Regions from separate parts of the Homo sapiens genome. Here all the other regions are linked to region 1. The links are contacts of gene promoters, found by promoter capture Hi-C in blood cells and fetal thymus (Javierre and others, 2016). All regions are on one chromosome and are shown on one strand. Each heading gives the region's core, a stretch centred on a gene start or on the middle of the fragment in contact. The rest is flanking DNA. Distances are from core to core; before and after follow the strand shown. Region 1 holds the start of SEMA3C (semaphorin 3C). Region 2 has its middle 370 kb from the start of HGF. Region 3 has its middle 390 kb from the start of HGF. Region 4 has its middle 420 kb from the start of HGF. Region 5 has its middle 410 kb from the start of SEMA3C. Region 6 holds the start of GNAT3 (G protein subunit alpha transducin 3). Region 7 has its middle 400 kb from the start of SEMA3C.

Region 1 (2,971 bases), core at 237-2,736:
AGAGGTGGGCCCCAGACACATGAAAGATGTGTCTCACTCACCTCTTCCTCCTACCTGAGATTTCATTCAACTTTCCCACTGAACAATGATTTTGCACCCCCAGAGGGGTTTTCTATGATACAGTTTATAAGAATTTAATGATTGTTTCATTATGTGAATTGTCAGGTATAAGGTGGAGATATTACACTCCACGTTCCTTCTGTAGAGTGACATCTGCTGGGCTGTGCCCCACAGTGATTTTAAGCAAGTGCCTGCTTGTTTTATGGGGATCAAAGCTCATTTCTCCCGATGTTTAAACATCTAGTTTATTGTGGTCCGGAGAAGTAATTTTCACTTAAACATCAAAGTCAGTTCCAGAGTTTAACGAGTGTACCTGAAAGTAATGCTGGAAAAATACCTCTGATGTATTTCTGTAGATGTGTGGTTATGGCAATCTGTTGGCATAACTCAGAACAGCCTCTCCACATAGAATTGTCAAATAATTTCTTCGTGTAATTATGTTTGGGAGTATGGTTGGGGACAACGTACTGGATATGAGTCAACGTGGAGGGGTCAACAGAATTACTGCTTTCAGGGCATTAAGGAAACTCAATAGGAAACAATACCCATTAAAAGGATACACTTGTGCAACAAGATTGTCGTTTATCTTGACCTGTTTTAGAAAACACGCAACAGAGGCCCGGCGCGGTGGCTCTCGGCACTTTGGGCGGCTGAGGCGGGCGGACCATTAGGTCAAGAGATCCAGACCATCCTGGCCCTGTCTCTACTAAAAATACAAAAATTAGCTGGGCGTGGTGGTGGGAGCCTGTAGTCCCAGCTATTCAGGAGGCTGAGGCAGGAGAATCGCTTGAACCCGGGAGGCGGAGGTTGCAGTGAGCCATGATCACACCACTGCACTGCACTCCAGCCTGGCGACAGAGTGAGATTCCCTCTCCAAAAACAAAACAAAAAACAAAAAACAAAAAACAAAAAAAAAACGCAGCAGAATAAGGACAAAACTCACGTCCTTTTAAAAACGCATCTCTTTGCCTTAAAAGGCTGCAGTGATCCTTCCCTGGCAAAAATAAAAAACCACAACTGCTTTGCACTTTGATATTTACGGCCAGGCAAAGCCTGTGTAAGTCTTCGAGAGCCGCCGGCAACAAAAACCGTGGAGCGCACCCAGCAAGTTGCTCACTCCGCCGCGGACTGCGAAAGGAGCAGGGTTGCGGAGCTAGGGCTCCAGCCTGCGGCCGCGCATTCTTGCGTCTGGCCAGCCGCGAGCTCTAAGGGTCGGCCCCGCCCGGTCCGCCCCCGCGGCTCCCTGCCAGGCTCTCGCGGGCGCGCTCGGGGTGGGGCCTCGCGGCTGGCGGAGATGCGGCCGGGGCTGCGCGGTGGTGATGCGAGCCTGCAGGGCGGCGCGCCGGGGCAGCCGGAGCCGCGCGCCGCGGCGCTGTAATCGGACACCAAGAGCGCTCGCCCCCGGCCTCCGGCCACTTTCCATTCACTCCGAGGTGCTTGATTGAGCGACGCGGAGAAGAGCTCCGGGTGCCGCGGCACTGCAGCGCTGAGATTCCTTTACAAAGAAACTCAGAGGACCGGGAAGAAAGAATTTCACCTTTGCGACGTGCTAGAAAATAAGGTCGTCTGGGAAAAGGACTGGAGACACAAGCGCATCCAACCCCGGTAGCAAACTGATGACTTTTCCGTGCTGATTTCTTTCAACCTCGGTAAGCTAAATTGGTCATTTTCCGCATTACAGATTTAGCAAAGTATAACTTTTTTGGCCTGTATATTGATTTTTCATACATTGGTATGCTCAAGCCTGGACATTTTCTTAAGAACACACGCGGTTTGTCAGGGAAGCTTTCCCCTTGCTGAGAGCCCTGCTCGAGTTGTTTCTTTAGGCGGTGACACCTGCGGAGAGTTTCAAGTTGAGTATTACAGTGCCTTCAAAGGCAAAATTGCTCCAGAGGAGATAAGAGAATTCTTTTCTTAATGTGTTGTTAGTTTGCGATCAGCAGAAGTGAAAACACCAAGAGGAACGTCTGTGTCTGAGTTAAAGGGAAGAAGTTGTAAGATACTGTTGGGGAGGCGGGGGTGTATTTAAGACACTTGGCTTTCAGTCTTTCACTCCTCATCACTAGGTGGGATGTAAATCAAATTGCCCTGTAGACTATCTTCGTTTCACCTGCCATTGTATCACCAGTATTCTTTGCAATTGGTTGTATATGTACTTTTGGGAGAAACATATAAGGTAAGATACCAATATGTAAAAAAAATGTGTAAATAATATCAACTTGCTCAGTAAACATAACAAAGGTTAGGCATATTAATAGTTTTTTTCTTTTGGCTTTAACTATGAAGTCAACAGAACCAAGGGGTAAATTACTGAGGGAAAGTCACCCATAAAATCAGTTTCTTTCTAAGTTAATTTAGGGATGACAGGGTGAAGAGGTTGTGGAAGCAGGAAGAAACTGTTTCTTTTGAAAATTACCAACACAAACATCTCTAGAGTTTCCTCCATCTGTGTGGTAAAAGAAGCGTACAATTTCATTTCTAACTCTCATAACATATGCACCACCTAGGAAATCTACTTACAATTTTTGTTTAAAATTGCATATTCCATTTAATTCTTTTTATTCTGTATTAATGAAGCTGTCTTTTTCAGTTGTTAGTGGTTCTTACAAAGAATTTAATAATTTTGACTATGAAATTTTAATTTGAAAAGCCAAATAATGAAGATCAGCATTGTTGTAACCTGTAAAAATAAATTTCTTTACTGGACTCTTGGGTCACTTTATTGTGTAATTATGGTAGAAGCAAAATGATTGTGTTTCTTTAATGGTCCTGAGTTTATTTTACATGATGTAGCCACTAGAGCTCCTGTAGGTTTATGGTAACACATTATCTGGTCTTCCTTGGGATTCAGATATTAGTTAATAGCATGTACCAATTTTATATCTATAGTTTGAAGCAGTGACACCTGTCT
Region 2 (2,971 bases), core at 187-2,686, 480 kb before region 1:
AACAGCCTTACCTTTACAGCATAACCACAGGGCCAAGGAGCATGATCAGAAGATATTCCAGTATCAGTGCCTTGAGATGATCAGAGCTAGCTCTCCCTTACAGCCATATAGGCTCTAATCTTGAAAGCCCAGGCAAGGGTTTTAACTCCTTCCCTTAAACTGAGGTTCTCCTGGGATCTTACTTTCCTTCCAGTGTGATCAGCTGGGACCAATCCCTTACAATAGAAATTAAGTAATGAATTAGAAATTTAAAGGGGAAAGGAGGAGATCCTCAGCCTCTTTTTTGCTGCAGAACTCTTAGCCTCCATAAGAATTTCTCACTACTTTTCTAGTATTCTTAAAAAATGTTCCAAACCGGTGGATGTGGGAAATAGGTATCAAGACTATATGCGCATACATACTTTAAGGCCCAGGTGTTTGCCTTGCTAAAAACAAAATCCAATAACATTAAAATTTATCTTATTACCTGATTCTTCCAGAATAATAGAACATTTCATACCTTAAAATTGCATAATTGAAAGAGCCACAAAAGCTTTGCTTCTTAGAAAATAAATTAAGTTCTGTACTAATGTAACTTCTAGAAAGTCCTCTGGAAATAGATTCAGCTAGGGGCTACTAATTACTCATCTGCCTATCCACAGTCCATTTAAGAAACCAAGTAATCATCACTAATTCATTAATTTAACAAATATTTGTGGAGAACTTAATATTTGACTGACACTGCATAAAGTGGTTACAAAATGCAACACAACTTAAAAGTGAGATAAAGATAAAGGTAAAGTGAGATAAAGGTTTTTTTTCTGATTCCAAGATAATACGATCAGGTAATTCATGTAAACATATGTAGTTCAAACAAGAAGGAAAGTTCATCTTAGAACTCTGCCTTTAGAGAGAATAAAAGACAAATTAGGTTAGAGGAATTACAAAACACTAAAATAAGAAGCTGTCTGCACTGGTCAAAATTTCTTCCTACCTTAGTGGTTTTATAACTTATTTCTAGAAAGAAAGAATAAAAGGAGTGTTGTCAAGTTAATTCACATTCACCTACTTTCTCTCACTCACTCACTTATTGCTTATGTAACTGAGCTAGACACTTTCAAAAATAGCAACACATTGGCAAACAACTAAGGAATATACATTAAAATATCTTCACATAGAAATATTTTTAATATTGACTTAATCATTCTGTATTGGAAGATTTACATCCATATAAGCAAGCATTCAATTCAAGAATTAAAAATATTTTGAAATAAATGATTCTACAATGACTATATAAATAAGTGGCTGAGTTTACTGAGTTATTGTAAATTTATTCATGTGGATTTGGAAATTTTTAGTACGAATTTGGTCACTTCTGATACATAGGTCAATTTTAAAGTATTCTTGGTGGTCTTCTTGTTGTTGTTGTTTTGTCTTTTAGAGATGAAACCTCTCTTTGTCACCCAGGATGCAGTACAGAGACATGATCATAGCTCACGGCAGCCTCAACCTCCTGGGCTCAAGCAATCCTCCTGGCTAAGCCTCTCTAGTCTCTGGGATTAGTCCCCAGCCACTGTGCCGAACTTCGATGCTTTCAATTTACATCCCACTATATTCGGCATGACCTTATAAGTAATAGTGGGTCATAATTCAAAAAAAAATCAACAAAAATGCTTTAGGGAACAACCTATTATATAATTCAGATAAATCTTAGTCATTCTTCAGTGACGAAGTTAAAAAAAAACGAAAACATTAGAATGAGAATTAGTAAATCTGTTTGTAGATACTTTTCTGACACTAAATAAGTGGACTTGAGCGAATCACACACTCTTGGTGTATATTATCATTAGTGAGATGTATTATACGTATTCACCAGAACTCTCCACGATCACCTTTCTCACTCTTGGATTCTTTCTCTTTAACATGAAAGAAAAGCCTCCATCCTAATTTTTGTCAGGAAGTTGGTTGCTGTTATGTGGTTTCATAAGATGTTTATTAAACTTTGCAAAAGTGACAGCCTGTATTGTATGTTGTTGTTTTTCAAATTCTATTGAAGCATAATAAATTTAACAATTAGAAGTTTTCTGTCTCTCTTTCCCCATATCTCTGTCTCTCTCTCTCCATATAAACATAAATATTGTACTTTTATTTGTCTCTATATGTGTATATACATATATAGTATGCATATATGTAAAAATAATATATGTTTTTGTATATACACACATATACAAATATTGGATTTTAAACCACAAATATAAAAGACACTCATGCCTTTTCAATCCTCACTCTCACCTCACTAAGGTAATCATTGTTAATGTTGATTTGTACCCTTCCATATATTTTCTATTTTCAGAAGCTTAGAGAGCATATATTTGTATTCAGAGAGATGTTTCTCTTCCTTCTTCTTTCTCTCCTTATTTCCTCCCTCTCTCTTTTTTTCCATTATTCATTTCTTTCTTTATTTACTCATACATGTTATCAGAATATGCACAGCCATTTTACTAATTGTGGGTTATAAGCCACTAGCAATTTGTGGAATTAGCTTAATGATCTTTAAAACACTTTAGCTTAAAAAACTAAACTTTAAAAATAAGAAGAATGGAATAGAATAGAAAATATTCGTGTATCACTTATAAAAAATGTAAGGAAATTTCATTTCATTAAACTTTATATCATTTATGTATATATTTATATGTATGTGTGTACATCTAAGATTACAAACATAGATGCAGAAGTCTGTGCTTGAAATGTGCACACGTGAATGAGTACTGAGTTCAGATCATTCTAGAAGATGAATTTCTCATGGTAATAATAGAAAAAATGGTTGAGAACTTTGTTTTGTAAAATTTTTTCTTTTGGTTTACAAACTATTTGAAATCAAGTTGTTTGGAATATTAGCATTTATTATTTACAGTTTACAAAGCACAGGTAAGTAAGCTGTATAGAGCCCAGCAGTAGACTTGTTCCTTGAATAGTGTGTATCATATTACTT
Region 3 (2,971 bases), core at 275-2,774, 460 kb before region 1:
ATTGTGTTTTCAAGCAATCACCCACTAGCTTTCAAACATGTTGACATAAAATTGTTCAATAATTTCCTTTTTATAATTTTAATTTCTATATTATCTATGGTGATGCTTCTCTTTATTTACTGATAATGATAACTTTTAATTTCACTCTTCTTTTTTCGAGTGGAGCTAAATGTTTATCAATTTTATTAATATTTTCAATTAATTGATATTCGATATATTTCTCTCTTGTTTTTCTGTTTTCTAATGTATTGACTTTTGCTCATGTCTTTACTATCACCTTCCTTTCATCCAATTTGAAATTATTTTTCCTGGCATTTAGTGCTATTTATACTCACTGTGCATAGTTTTAAATACAGCCTACACATTTGGTATATAGTATTCTCATTTACATTTAAAATATTTTAAAATATTTCCTACCTAATTTTGTTTGACCCTTATGTTATTTGAAATTCTGTTGCCTAATTTCCAAATATTTGTAGATATTCCAAATATCCTTTTTGTCAATGATTTCTAAATGAATCCCATTATGTTCAGAGGCTATACTCAAAATGTGATGATCTGGATGATCTCAAAATATTTAATTTGTTTTGATATTTTTGCTATGGCCCAGCACATGGTCTGTCTTAGGGAATCTTCAATGTACACATGAAAGAATGAATATTTTCCTGTTTAGGGATGCAGTGTCCTGTTGATTTCTACAAGTTCAAATAGTCCTATAATATTATATAAGTCTTTCATTTCCTTACTAATTTTGTGTTTAGTTTCTCCATTCATTACTAAGAAAATAGTATTCCACTCTCCAATGACAGTTGTAGATTTCTCTATTTTCCTTTGTAGTTCTGTCAGCTTTTTCTTTATATGTTTTGAAACTCCTATTACATGACATATATATTTAGGAGTGTTAGGTATTATTGATAAGTTTACTCTCTTATCATTAGTATAAAACATCTGTTTCTAGAAGTATTCCTTGTAAAGAGTCTACTTTGATATTGCTATGCTATTCCAGCTTTCTTATGGTCAGCATGTACATGACATTTGTTGTTTCACCTTTTCATTTTTAAAACGAATTTCTTGAAAACATCACATAATTGTGTTCTGTTTGTTTATTATCCAGTCTAAGAGTTGAAAGTTCTAATGAATTTATATGCAATGTAATCATTGAGATGCTTCAGTATATTGGTATCTTTAAAATTATTATTTAATATTCCATCATCTATTGTATCTGCCTCTATTTTTATTGATCGATTTTTTCTCCTGTTATATATTACATTTTCCTACTTTTATGCATGTCTATTTTTTATTGTGTATGGTTGAATATAGTTATATGTACTGCATCGTTCAATATTTGAGTTTTATTGTCTTAATAGAACACTGGGTTTTTTTCTGAAAGTCAGTGAATTTACTTGTAAATCAGCTTACTCTCTTTGAAGCTTGTTTTTCAAGCTTGATTATGGTGGTTCGTAGTAGCTTTTAATCTAGGACAGATTAGCCCTACTCTTAAGGTATGGACTTTCGGAGACAAGTACTTAATGATCTGGGTTTCCAGTGAGGTCTCTCCACTTTGGAAAGTCATTATTCAACATTACCGGCCTTTTCCAAGCTTAGGTAGTTGTTCAGCTTACAGTTCTATACATGTTGTTTGTTTCAGTTAATAACGAACTTCTTAAAATAAGTTCTTCCCAGTAGTTGCTCTTCACAAGGCTTTGTAAAGTCTCCTCCTGTAAATATATAATCTACTCTCAAGCAGAATACTTAAGGGGAACTTAATGTACAATTTTGGAGCTCTATATCTCCACTGACAGCACTAGACAGGTCAAGACAGAAAGTCTACAAAGAAACAATGGACTTACATTATACCCTACAGCAAATGGACTTAACAGATATTTACCGAACAGTCTACGCAACAACTGTAGAATATACATTCTATTCATCAGCACATGGAACATTCTCCAAGATAGAACATATGACAGACCACAAAACAAGTCTCAGTAAATTTAAGAAAATTGAAAATTCATCAAGTACTCTCTCAGATCACAGTGGAATAAAATTGGAAATCAACTCCAAAAGGAACCCTCAAAACCATGCAAATACGTGGAAATTAATAGCCTGCTCCTGAATGATCACTGGGTCAAGAATGATATCAAGATGGAAAATTGAAATTATTTAAACTGAATGACAATAGTGACGCAATCTATGAAAACCTCTTGGATACAGTAAAGGCAGTGCTAACAGGAAAATTTGTAGCATTAAATGTCTCCATCAGAAAGTCTGGAAAAAGCACAAATAGACCATCTAAGGTCACATCTCGAGGAGCTAGAGAAACAAGAACAAACCAAACCCAAACCCAGCAGAAGAAAAGAAATGACCAAGAGCACAGCAGAACTAAATGAAATTGAAACAAACAAAGAAACAAAAAATACAAAAGATAAATAAAACAAAAAACTGGTTCTTTGAAAAGATAAATAAAATTGATAGTCCATTAATAAGATTAACCAAGTAAAGAAGAGAGAAGATTCAAATAAGCTCAGTTAGAAATAAAACAGGAGATATTACAACTGATACCACAGAAATACAAAGGTCATTCAAGGCTACTATGAACACCTTTACATGCATAAACTAGAAAACCTTGAAGATATGGATAAGTTCCTGGAAATATACAACCTTCCTAGATTAAACCTGGGAGAAATAGAATTTCTGAACAGACCAATAACAAGCCATGAGATTGAAATGGCAATTAAAAGTTACCAACAACAACAAAAATGTCCAGGACCAGAGGGATTCACAGCTATATACTATCAGACATTCAAAGAATGACAATAATCCTACTGACACTATTCCAAAAGTTAGAAAAAGAGAGAATACTCCCTAAATCATTCTGTGAAGCCAATATTATCCTAATACCTAAACTAGGAAAGGACATAGCAAAAAAAGAAAACTACAGACCGATATTCCCGATGAACATAGATGCAAA
Region 4 (2,971 bases), core at 260-2,759, 440 kb before region 1:
AAAATTTAACCTGGCATTTAAAAAAAAATTAGAAATGTGTTTCAGAAAATGTATTTCTCATGATCTAGAATGCTGACAAAATTTAACTTGGCATTTAAAAAAATTAGAAATGTGTTTCAGTAAGTGTATTTCTCATGATCTAGAGCAAAATTATAAGGATGAACATTCTATCAAGGTAATGATTAAGCTTCAGTTTTCCTAGTGGTTTGTCAACGACCTGTAAGACAAATTTAGAGGACATTTCTAAGAACTATATTTTTTTTCTCTACTTAAATTTTTTTAATGTTTAAATAAAATTATTAGAAATGCATGAAAAAATTCGAGGCATAATGAGTCAATTCCACTTTGAACTGAATTCTATCTGCAGATAGAGTAGATTGGTGCTTCTCTGGTGCTACACCTGGATACCTTAGATATTGCTTTCTTTTTCTTTTTTTTTTTTTCCACATGCATAAGCCTAAATAGCAATTCAGTATTCTACTTGCAAATCTTCATTTTAAACTGCATACTCTTTGAGCAGTGATAATGTATATTTTTATTTCTACCGTTATGCCTAGCATAAAGAAAATATTTAAAAAATGTTTATGGAGTTGACTTAAATTTAAATATTGGTTTAATAATAAACACTTAGTTGTGATGATAGCAAAATAAATTTTTCCTTCTATTTCTTGCAGTTGTGTTCTTTTTCCATGCAGAGATTTGCATCTATAGTCTAGAATGGGTGAGTGTCTCTAGGCAGGATTTTTGGAGTCTTGAAAAGTCAAAAAAAGATCCAGAATAGAACCAAGTAAATAGTGTGGTCTGAAATGGGTGTAATGACCAGGAACAGAAAAACAATGGCAGTCCTAGAGCCTTGAGAATAGATTCAGTCACCTATGTGTGGTGCAGAGTATGTGAGAACAGAAGACAGATAAGAAGTCCTGGAAAATCGAGGCAGAACTAGCTTGTAGCTTCCGCTCCGATGAACAGAGCAGCGTGCAAAGACTCACATTGTGAATTTTTTCTCCAAGAACTACTGCAGGAACATACCAGGAAAGCCGCGAGAATCCACAACGTTTTGAAGGAGCTGCATCGCTACTGCAGGCTCCCTGAGATGCTGAAAAAGTGTGAGTCTGCTTGCTTTCTCAATGGGGAGGCTCATGGTCTGGGACAAGTTCTCAGCCCTGTTCACTGGATGACAAGGTACTGTTGTTGGGGCACCATGGGAGTGGGCATGGCCTTTAGGACTGTAGGTTGTGTGGGAGTGGGGTTAGGTTTGTGACTGCTGGCTTTCCCCCACTTCCCTGGTGACCTATATGACTCAGCAGAGGGAGACACAATATTCCTGGGAATATAACTCCCTTGAATTTGGGAACCACACCCACAGCAGCAGCAGCAAGCCCTGCCCAAGAAAAGGCTGAGCTCAGACACACCTATCCCTGCGTTCACCTGGGGTCTTTCTCAACTCACCCTGGTAGCTGAAGACAAAGGTCATAATCTCTTGGGTGCCCTATGGCCCTGCCCATTGCCTGACAAATCTGAATACTTAACTAGGTGTCCCTAGGGCAACTGTGCATCCTGCATATAGGACCACAGCTGATGAGCTATTGAAAGTTCCACTTCCTGGCTAGAGGCCAACCAACACAAAACCAGCACACTAAACAAGAATACAACCAAGGACTCTCAAAGAGTCCACTTCACTCCCTTGCTGACTCCACTGCAGCAGGTGCTGGTATCCACAGTTGCAAGACCTGAAGATGGATCATATCAAAAGACTCATTGCAGACATTCTCCAGTTTCAGCTTGGAGTCCGCTACTCTGCTGGGTGGTTAGACCTAGAAGAGCAGAAACAATAACTACAGTTTGTCTCTTGGGAAGCACCATTCCTAGGAGAAGGGGGAGAGCACCATATCAAGGGAGCACCCTGTGGGACAAAATAATGTGAACAGCAGCCCTTGTATTCCAGATCTTCTCTCTGACATCGTCTACTCAAATGAGAAGGAAACAGGAAAACAATTCTGGTAGTATGACAAAACAAGGTTCTTTAGCAGCCCCAAAAGATCATACCAGCTCACCAGCAATGGATCCAAACCAAGACAAAAATCTCTGAACAGTCAGAAAGAGAATTCAGAAGGTTGATTATTAAGCTAATCAAAGAGGCACAAGAGAAAGGTGAAGTCCAACTTGAAGTCAAAAACATGATACAGGATATTAAAGGAAAATTCTTCAGTCAAATAGATAGCATAAATAAAAACAATCACAATTTCTGGAAATCAAGGACACACTTAGAGAAATGCAAAATGCACTGAAAAGTCTCAGCAATAGAATCGAAAAAGCAGAAGGAAGAACCTCAGAACTCAAAGACAAGGCTTTCAAATTAACTCAATCCATCAAAGACAAAGAAAAAATAATTTAAAAAGAAAACCTCCAGGAAATTGGGACTATGTTAAACGTCCAAATTTAAGAATAATTGGTGTTCCCAAAAAGGAAGAGAAATCCAAAAGTTTGGAAATCATATTTGAGGGAATAATTAAGGAAAACTTCCCTGATCTTGCTAGTGATCTAGACATCCAAATACAAGAAGCCCGAAGAACATCTGGGAAATTCATCCCGAAAAGACCATTGTCTAGCCACATAGTCATCAGCTTACCTAAAGTCAAGATGAAGGAAAGGATCTTAACAGCTGTGAGGCAAATGCATCAGGTAACCTGTAAAGAAAAACCTATCAGATTAACAACAGATTTCTCAGCAGAAACTCTGCAAGCTAGAAGGGATTGGGGTCCTATCTTTAGACTCTTTAAACAAAAAAATTATCAGCCAAGAAATTTTTTATCCAGGAAAACTAAGCTTCATAAATGAAGGAAAGATACAGTCTTTTTCAGACAAGCAAATGCAGAAAGAATTTGTCACTACCAAGCCAGCACTATAAGCACTGCTAAAAGAAGCTCTATATCTTGAAACAAAGGTAGTCAGGCAACAAATACCACCATGT
Region 5 (2,971 bases), core at 211-2,710, 410 kb before region 1:
CAGGAGACCCATGTATACCTATAGCATACTTGGTGGCCTGTCCTGCTGAAAGAGAAGTAGATGTTAGAATTAAGTTAGAGCTTTCCCCCAGCTGTGCCTCCATAAATTTTCTGATAAACATTTCACTAAGGAATCTTTCACTCCCAAAACCCTCATCCCCTGCCCACCTTAACCAATACCATTATTCTAGCAGGAATGTTATTGATGAAAAAATGTTTTGTCCCCAACATATGCTAAAGTAAGTCTTATGCAACATATGCATAAGACCGATAATCTCTGTTCAAGCTTATTTAGTTCCACAGGCACCTCTTTATCTCATGGGAATTCAGGATGGCCTTAACTTCATGGGCACAGTCTAAAAAGAGATATGTTTTGTTTGAATGTAGGGAGATCAACCATTTCGTTTCACCCAGGACAATTTCAGTCCTGGGCAAACCAAGACAGTTAGTCATCATATTTGAATGGAAAATAATTTGTTTTCTTTTGTTTGAAACTGAAACATAAAATTGACCATCACAGTTGCCAAATCTGTTTTTCCAAGAAAAACTGAAAATCCTGACTTTAAAATGTCAAATCATCTGATTTTTAAATATTGTTTTGAAATGTTTAGCCTATTAATCAAACACTAATCTAGGTGTTGCTATGAAAATATTTGGTAAATTTTATTAGGATCAACAATCATTTAACTTTAAGTAAGGGAGAATATTCCCAATAATCTGGGAGAAACTGGCTCAATCAGTTGAAATAATTTAAGAGCAGAACTGAGGTATTCCTGAGCAAGAGGAAATTCTGTCTCAAGACTGAAGCATTAGCTTCTCCAGGAGAGTTCCAGCCTGCCCCTTTGACAGACTACCCTCTGGATCTCAAATTTACAGAAGCAGATCCCCATAATTATGTAAGTCAATTCCTTGCAATAAATATCTCTCTTTCCCTTTGATGATTGACAGATGATAGATAGATAGATAGATAGATAGATAGATAGATAGATAGATAGACAGACAGATAGATAGACAGGAAGCTGGCCAGATGATAGATAGAGAGGTAGATCCTATTGGTTCTGTTTCTATCCCTGCAGATGCAACAGTACTGGTTGAGCATTTCTGTGTGATTGTAAATTATCTGGAGCTTTGCTTCTTTAGATAAGGTGCTCTGAAATCACCACAATCAGCATCTGGCCTCCTTCACCCACTTACTATAATTGCTGAATTCCTAGAGGCATTGTGACTCACCATGGAAATGATAATATTTTGCTGATATTATAATATCTCTACTTAAAAAAAGAGAATGCCTCCAAACTTTGTAACTAGAGATTGAAATAGCAAAAAAGATAGAGATAAGAAATGTTGAACCATAAACACAATTTATGAAATGCTAGGGTAGTAAAATAATAATACAAATATTACAACTCTTCTAGCAATTTTTTGAAAAAACATAGAAAGGAGAGGTTTGGGTTAATATTCAGGAAGTTTTTAAGAGTAGAATAGCAGACATTCTTGAGGAAAGGATTACGAAGCAAACATGTAATCAGAAAGGGAGGTACTCCAAATCTGGAGAAAGTGATATACATGTCTTTCTATCCTTGAAAAACCAACCAAAACAGCCAGATTTTTCAAATAAATAAATAAATCACTTGAAAGATAGGCTATGGCTTATTCTTGGGTACTACATCACATTTTAAAAATTGGATTTATATTCAGGGGCAGTTGTCTAGGCTTATTGTATGGTCAGTGGATTATACCACCAACTTCAGGCCACTCTCTCCCCCACAAAACTAACCAGTCCACTTTCCCTTCTAATATAATCTCTCATGAGGTTCCTTAATCAGTTACCTAATACTGTCTCAAATGCCATGGTTTTTATTCTCAACTATGCTAAAAGCTAATAAAGTTTATTTGATAAACACTTTTATATGAGTGAGTTTCTGTTACAGCAGTTAGTTAATAAACAAGCATAAATGTCACATCAGATTCTTCCATTTTAATAGGAAAGCAGGGCTGCCATTATCTAATATGAAGCTGGAGAGACCCATAGGACTCACTATATGGAGTAAGATCGATTCAGTTTACTTCGGAGCTAGTAGAAACTCGGAGAGAATTTCTCTTTTTTAGAACTATAAATGCAACTAGCTATGCATTTCATAATTTCCTTATATTTTTTGAGTAGTTGACTTAATTTATTTAACTGTTGCTATGTAAAATACGTGAGTGTTATTTGTTTTACCCATTTTCATTTCATCATCTAATTTCCATCAGCTACCTCCTCAATTATAGTTTAAGCCATTGTCAGGAATTAGCTAGCAGCAAAATTGAACACAAGAAGGACATGCAGTACATATAAAAAAAGCACCCAAGATGCAAGGGATCCAGAAGGAAAAAGGTGGCTCTACCAAACAAAGCAATGGGTTAGTCATGATGCTGGCCATGCCTTCCTGCTTCTGGCTCTCATACGCATAAAACAAGATACTGCTTCCTCATTGTGGCAGGTGTGACCTTTACATTGCTAAAACCAGAAATGTTTCTATTACTTTACACATGAGACTCCCAAGATCAGAGACAGTTAAGAAAGAGGTTGTTTTGAAATGTGGACCTGTTTGGCATACCAGGGTGAACCATATTAGATCAATACAAAAGCTTAACACAGAGCTATGTTATTGACTTGTTAATAAAGGTGTACTTAGGCTTGCCCAAGACTGCCAGTAAGACAGAATATAAGTATAATGAAATACAGTGGATTCCAGGATGCATAGTAGCATTCTACTTATGCATGCCATGTATTCCCTTGATCATAAAATCTAGGCCACTATTTGTGATGGTGGAAATTACATTTCAGTGATTTAAGCCTTCTAACATAGCAAATCACAGGATTAATTATGATAATAAGAAGAGCTTACCCATTGTACAGTGAAAACCAATGAAAGGTCCTACATCAGTTTTTGTTGAAAAGATAGAATAATGATTTTATGCTTTGATTT
Region 6 (2,971 bases), core at 152-2,651, 410 kb after region 1:
TCACAGGTGAGCATTAGGCCGTGCAAATCTCCTTCCTTTGGGACAGGCCCTTTGCATTGTAAAAGCAATACCACATGATTTGCACAAATCCTTGCCTATCCACCACTGCACATCTTTATACTATCATAATATGGCTTTGGAAGAACGGAACCCAGGAAGTTTTGACTATGTTTATGTATCTTCAGCCTAATATTTTTGATGTGGAAAAAGTAAACAAAGCAGGACTATGTATTTAATCTGGCAGCCTATTTTCTTGTTGCATGAATATGTAAAAACTCACCTGTTCAAACTTTGCACATGATCCCACAAGAAGAGCACCACTGACAGGTTGGTGGATTGACTGTATTCTGGCATTTTCTGGTTAAGCACATTCACAAATCCCAAAATGCACACTGAAAGATGTGCCACAGGCAACCGACTCTGTTCATAAGGAAAATATTGATTGACTATCTACCAAGCACTTTATGCTTCATATAAATAAAAAATTGTGCAACATAATCTCTGCCCTCAATCCTGAAGATTTTCAAGAAGTACATGGTATCTGTTGGGGTAGTTGAAAGCTATGGAACTTATTTAGGTGTAATTACTGTTTTTAGTTTGTAGGAAAAACCAAATTACCTGCTGTTTCAAAGAACATTGGTTTTTATTCCCTTGGTACCAAATCAGTAAGAGTCCCTCCAGCACAGCAGCTGTTGCTTAATGGCCCTAAAGAGTTAATGCGCTGCCTAAATTGAACATAGTTCAGTGTCTACACCAAGTGGGCCCTCAATTAGTGTTGATGGATTGACTTTCTCACAGGCGGCAAAAGCTCAATTTATAGAGATGGATCCTATGACACTAAAATCAATAATTTAAGAAAACTGTGTTGAATTTTATATTTGTAGCAATACAATATGTACAAATATAAAAACTATATGTATTTGTATCCATTGTTAAAAAAAAGATTTTTTTTGTTCCCTGACAGATGCTAATAGATGCTCAATAGCTTTAAGTAATAATCTAAGCATAGGTAGACCATAAAAGTTGGATAACTTACATGTATATATTCTGATTGTGATATAGGAGTGATTATAAAGAAATTGAAGGGCCAAATATCTGAAGATAAGATGTAAGCATCGCTGATTAGTAATAATAACTTTTAATCACAGTAATAAAAATTGCCCAGTAGTGAGAAACATTCTATTTGAATTGCTTATTGTAGATCATCTCTAGTGTATAGATTTTGACAACTTTCTACATTATTTTATACTATAAAGCAGATAAGCCTGTTTTCGAAGATGTGCCCGAAGCAGTCATTTAATTTGAAAGCATAATGAACTTCCTCTCTAGCCTCCATCAGGGGGGTATGGTTTTACCACCTGATCAGGTGACAGATGAGAAAGCATCTCCTTAGTCAAAGCAGAATCTTAGAGCATTAGGGAATGGACTGCTAGGTACTTCAGCAGAGCATTACTCTTGCCTCCTATGTCCAAACCACAGCTGTGCTCAACATTTGAAAAATCTGAACATATAAACTGACAAGTATCTACCACCACAAGATGGGAAGTGGAATTAGTTCAGAGAGCAAGGAGTCAGCCAAAAGATCAAAAGAACTGGAGAAAAAGCTTCAGGAGGATGCTGAGCGAGATGCAAGAACCGTAAAGCTGCTACTATTAGGTAATTTCTTTTCCCTTTTGCTTTCAAAAACCTGACTTTTTTTTCAATTGTGATATATTTACTTTTCTCAGACTTTAATTTCGAGTGTATTATCATATGGGAAATTTATTATAAAAATGTGTTTGGAAACTTAAGGAAAATTTATTTGTACTCTATCAATATTTAATAATTTTTCTGTTTAGTATTTTATTACCTTTTTGTTAAGCAAGGAGGCAAATATTTATCAGCTAATTTCTCTGTCAGTAATATGGTTTACTATTATTAAAATAAAAATCAGATACATTTATTATTTTATTGCACCCTAATCATTTTCTGAATGTCAGCTTTTTAATACTGAAAGAAATCCTTTAGCTACAAGTTATAAAGAGTTATATTATTTTGTTTAAACAGAAATAGGTTGAATTGTTTGACGTTGAAGTTAATGTTTGTTATTTACTTGTATAGTTAAAAATCAATTAGTCAAGTTAGAGAACAATGATAAGGTACTTTAAATTATATTAACAATATTACTTAGGCTCCTGAATACTGCCTGCAATATTGCCTGTACACTTGAAAAATACTCTACCTAAATCCTTTTAGAGCATTTATATATTCATTCAGGTCAGGATTTATGTCTCTTTTATTTTTTTTTCCTTCTTTCAAAACTCAGCACTGTTTTACCTTGACTATAAATTCAATAAATGTTCAATTAATTGAAAGAATAAAAATAATCCATATGCAGATTTTTTCTATAAAGCATAAAACATTTTACATGCAGTTTCACTGAAACAGAAATATGTTTTTGAAATAAAAATGATGACCTATATAAAGAATACAAAGCAAGCACTTACTTCTGATTCAATTATGAGTTGTACTTTCTCCCTGATTTTGGTTATACACAAAAGGACTTCATCTTATTTCAGAATCGTGCATATTTCACATAACAAATTTCCTCATATTTTAAGTATTTAAACACTTAAATACTTAATATTAAATGAATTAAATACTTAAACTTATTTAAGTATTCCTTCGTTGTGTCTAATTTGCTCCCAGTGGCAAGAGTGTTTCAGAAGCCAACTGTGGGATTCCCAGCACTTGCTCCTTAAAGGAAAGGAAACATCCTTGCCCCTTACACACAGGTTCTGTGCCTGCACACAGGCCCACAGCACTTGTCAGTAACTACCCAGAGGTTGGTGACTTTGAAAGATGTGGGTTAAGTACTAATGACACCAGGAAATATATGCTTCCTAACACACCATAGAATTCTGTTAGTTTCTGAGCAAGAGTGAAAGTAATATGGACACAGGAAAAGCAAATGAAAGGTAAAAGGGAAAGA
Region 7 (2,971 bases), core at 221-2,720, 400 kb before region 1:
AATTAAAACAAATTCATAATAACATAAAAATATTACTCTGTAATGTTAAGGAAAAAAGTGGAATATGAAATAGAAAATGAAGGAAATGTTAGGACATTTACATCTGTACAAACACAAACATACGGCATTTAGTCACAACTATATAAAATAGTTTTAAAAGACTGAAAGAAAATATGAAAACTTTTTTCTATTTTTTTAATTACGTTGTAATTCCTAAAATTTTTGTTGTGGAATTTGTTACTTTAAAAACTGAATTTTTTTTTTAACCAAGAGAAAAAAAGTATCTCCATTCCTATATTTTATAGATTTTATAAGATGTTTTGAAATTATGAAATCAAAGTTCCAACCATCTCTATTGTCATTCACAGGTATAAACTCTTTCTCTCTGAATTATTTCTTCCTGATCCTAAGCAATATTATATTCTCAATAATTTCCTAATAAATCAAAAGTAATTTATTACTATACAATTTATTGAAAGTGAATAAGAAATTGAGAAATTTGTCTCAAAAATTGAGAAGGGGAATATCACACTCTGGGGACTGTTGTGGGGTGGGGGGAGGGGGGAGGGACAGCATTGGGAGATACACCTAATGCTAGATGACAAGTTAGTGGGTGCAGCGCACCAGCATGGCACATGTATACATACGTAACTAACCTGCACAATGTGCACATGTACCCTAAAACTTAAAAGTATAATAATAATAAAAAAAAAGAAAAAAAGAAAAAAGAAAAAAAAAAACACAGACAATGCTCTCTAGTTTAAGACTTGGACAGACGGTCTAGTAAAAATCCCTTTCACCAAAAGGACACATTAAGTTATAATAAAACTGGACTAGAACGGCTTTATGAATTACCATTTCAGTATATCTTATTGTCCATTACATGTAACATTGCTATTATCTAACATATATGTGATAATTATGTTATATACACTCATGTACTTTGTATTCTGTAGTTTTCCTTGTTTGTTCATGGTACTTTGATTTTTTTTTTTTTGTTTTGTAAAAGAAAACTATGTCATTCTGATTTTTCCCTTAGGTATTTTACCTATTATTGCTTATATTTGAAGCAAGAGTGGCCAAAAATGTACAAACTTAGAATGACAGTTTGATCAGAAATCCATATATTTTCTAGTTTGGAGGCCTTAACTCAAAAGTATAGTTCTTGGAAATGGCTGCAGGTGTTTACGATCTCCACAAGACAACTATGGATTTAGGGAAATAAGTTGATCAAGAAATTAGGAAAAAAATCTCACTGAAACTATATTCAGTGTCATTTTAAATTCAAAGCCAACAAATATTTTAATCAAAAGAGTAAAACTAAGTTCCAACATGGGAAAGAGTGCAAATGGAATTCAATGCCCCTTTTGTTATTTTGATCGCATTCAGTACCAGAAAAATACTTTGCGTCATATTTTGTAGTAACATTTAACGTGGTTTTAACATATGACTTAATTTATATCAATTTATATCAATAAATAAGATATTTATAATCAATATCTTTTTCCATAAAGTGAAGAAAATCAAGTGTTAGGAAAGTTTGAGCCATTTACATGTCATTTTATTATTAAGAAATCGTAGGGGCTAATCTCCAACTTAAAAACATAATATTTTGACACAAGTAAAATATTTAGGTATCTAATTATTGAGCATATCCCTAACCTACAATAACTGTTATTTCAAGTAATAGAGTATATCTCACTATAGAATATTTGCCTTCAGGTACAGTCATGTTAGCACAAAACATCATAATATGAAAACATCATAATATTTTGACACAAGTAAAAGTTTTAAAACATCATCATATTTTGACACAAGTAAAAGATTAAAACATCATAATATTTTGACACAAGTAAACATCATAATATTTTAAAACATAATATTTTGACACAAGTAAGAGATTTAGGTATCTAATTATTGGGTGTATCTCTAACATACAATAACTGTTATTTCAAGTAATAGAGTATATCTCACTATAGAATATTTGGCTTCAGATACAGTCATGTTAGCACAATGTTGTAAAGTTACCTCAAATAATAATGTATTCTCTTGCATGGTTATGTTACTTATTAACTGCATTTTTTTCTTTTTATAACTTTTATATTTCAAATGTGTAAAATGTACATAGTTCTAATGTCAAAATTATGTTGAAAAATATAATATTCTATGAGTCTTGTTCTCATCCCCATTATCACGTATCATTGTTTAGTCTTTTCCTTCTTGAGTGCGTATGCATATGTGTGTGTGTTTATGCATGCATACAAAAAATAAACACATATATACATGTATAATCTTATTTTCTGTTTTTATAATAGAAAGATAGCATCCTATTTTTTGTTCTTCTATACTTTACATTTTTCAAATAAATTTTTCTCTCAATGAGTAAGTTATAGAACATTTATTTTGAAACAAAATAACATAGCGTTTGGGCAGATTCTGAAATTCACTAATCATAAATCTTGCTTGATAACATAGACAGCTATGATAACAGTGATATACAGATGCACTTTATCTTAAAATAAATTATGGACATGAGCAATGTATTTGTAAAGAAAAATAATAATAACAGCTAACATTTTTGAGTACTTAAGTGTAATCTACCTTTCCGGATAGTTTCAGTGTATATCTTTTCTTTTATCTCATTACTTTTCCAGCTTTATTCAGGTACAATTGGCAAATAAAATTGTAGGCAATAAAGTTACACAACATGTTTTGGTATATATATATGGTGAATTGATTACCACAATCAGGCTAATTAACATACTGTTCAATTCACATAGTTACCTTTTTTCTTTTTGTGGTGAGATTATTTAAAATCTACTCTTTTAGCAAATTTCAAGTATGTAGTAGAATATTATACACCATAGTCACCTCCAGATCTGAATCATTCTGCATAACTGAAATTTTGTATTCTTTGACCAGCATCACTTCATTTCCCCTCTGCCCTAGCCCATGTGTTAACCACCATTCT

The links. The method cuts DNA at HindIII sites, captures the fragments that hold promoters and counts their contacts. A CHiCAGO score of 5 or more calls a contact.
Region 2: a contact is called between a fragment that was not itself captured here and the fragment with the promoter of SEMA3C in region 1, in 2 of 17 cell types (neutrophils and erythroblasts). The highest score is 7.1, in neutrophils.
Region 3: a fragment that was not itself captured here is called in contact with the fragment with the promoter of SEMA3C in region 1 in 2 of 17 cell types (erythroblasts and neutrophils); the score reaches 6.0 in erythroblasts.
Region 4: a contact is called between a fragment that was not itself captured here and the fragment with the promoter of SEMA3C in region 1, in 2 of 17 cell types (neutrophils and erythroblasts). The highest score is 7.8, in neutrophils.
Region 5: a fragment that was not itself captured here is called in contact with the fragment with the promoter of SEMA3C in region 1 in 1 of 17 cell types (endothelial precursors); the score reaches 5.3 in endothelial precursors.
Region 6: the fragment with the promoter of GNAT3 here is called in contact with the fragment with the promoter of SEMA3C in region 1 in 1 of 17 cell types (M0 macrophages); the score reaches 7.1 in M0 macrophages.
Region 7: a contact is called between a fragment that was not itself captured here and the fragment with the promoter of SEMA3C in region 1, in 1 of 17 cell types (neutrophils). The highest score is 7.0, in neutrophils.

The regions. Positions count from the first base shown.
Region 1 is chr7:80,917,566-80,920,536 of GRCh38, reverse strand. SEMA3C (semaphorin 3C) reads left to right here and starts at 1,486. Exons shown (of 18, transcript NM_006379.5): 1 at 1,486-1,709. RefSeq lists a silencer at 1,220-1,349 and an enhancer at 1,897-1,966. The HindIII fragment of the contact is 5,149 bases long and covers 1-1,847 here.
Region 2 is chr7:81,394,256-81,397,226 of GRCh38, reverse strand. No RefSeq gene overlaps it. Among named protein-coding and RNA genes, the nearest start is that of HGF, 370 kb to the left of the region's middle. The HindIII fragment of the contact is 1,803 bases long and covers 535-2,337 here.
Region 3 is chr7:81,376,077-81,379,047 of GRCh38, reverse strand. No RefSeq gene overlaps it. Among named protein-coding and RNA genes, the nearest start is that of HGF, 390 kb to the left of the region's middle. The HindIII fragment of the contact is 157 bases long and covers 1,446-1,602 here.
Region 4 is chr7:81,352,986-81,355,956 of GRCh38, reverse strand. No RefSeq gene overlaps it. Among named protein-coding and RNA genes, the nearest start is that of HGF, 420 kb to the left of the region's middle. RefSeq lists an enhancer at 693-1,892. The HindIII fragment of the contact is 2,639 bases long and covers 190-2,828 here.
Region 5 is chr7:81,329,792-81,332,762 of GRCh38, reverse strand. No RefSeq gene overlaps it. Among named protein-coding and RNA genes, the nearest start is that of SEMA3C, 410 kb to the right of the region's middle. The HindIII fragment of the contact is 2,345 bases long and covers 288-2,632 here.
Region 6 is chr7:80,510,494-80,513,464 of GRCh38, reverse strand. It overlaps GNAT3 (G protein subunit alpha transducin 3), which reads left to right and starts at 1,401. Exons shown (of 8, transcript NM_001102386.3): 1 at 1,401-1,656. The coding sequence starts at 1,539. It overlaps LOC107986812 (a long non-coding RNA gene), which reads right to left. Exons shown (of 3, transcript XR_001745252.2): 3 at 1-420. The HindIII fragment of the contact is 5,637 bases long and covers 1-1,606 here.
Region 7 is chr7:81,313,058-81,316,028 of GRCh38, reverse strand. No RefSeq gene overlaps it. Among named protein-coding and RNA genes, the nearest start is that of SEMA3C, 400 kb to the right of the region's middle. The HindIII fragment of the contact is 4,398 bases long and covers 1-2,971 here.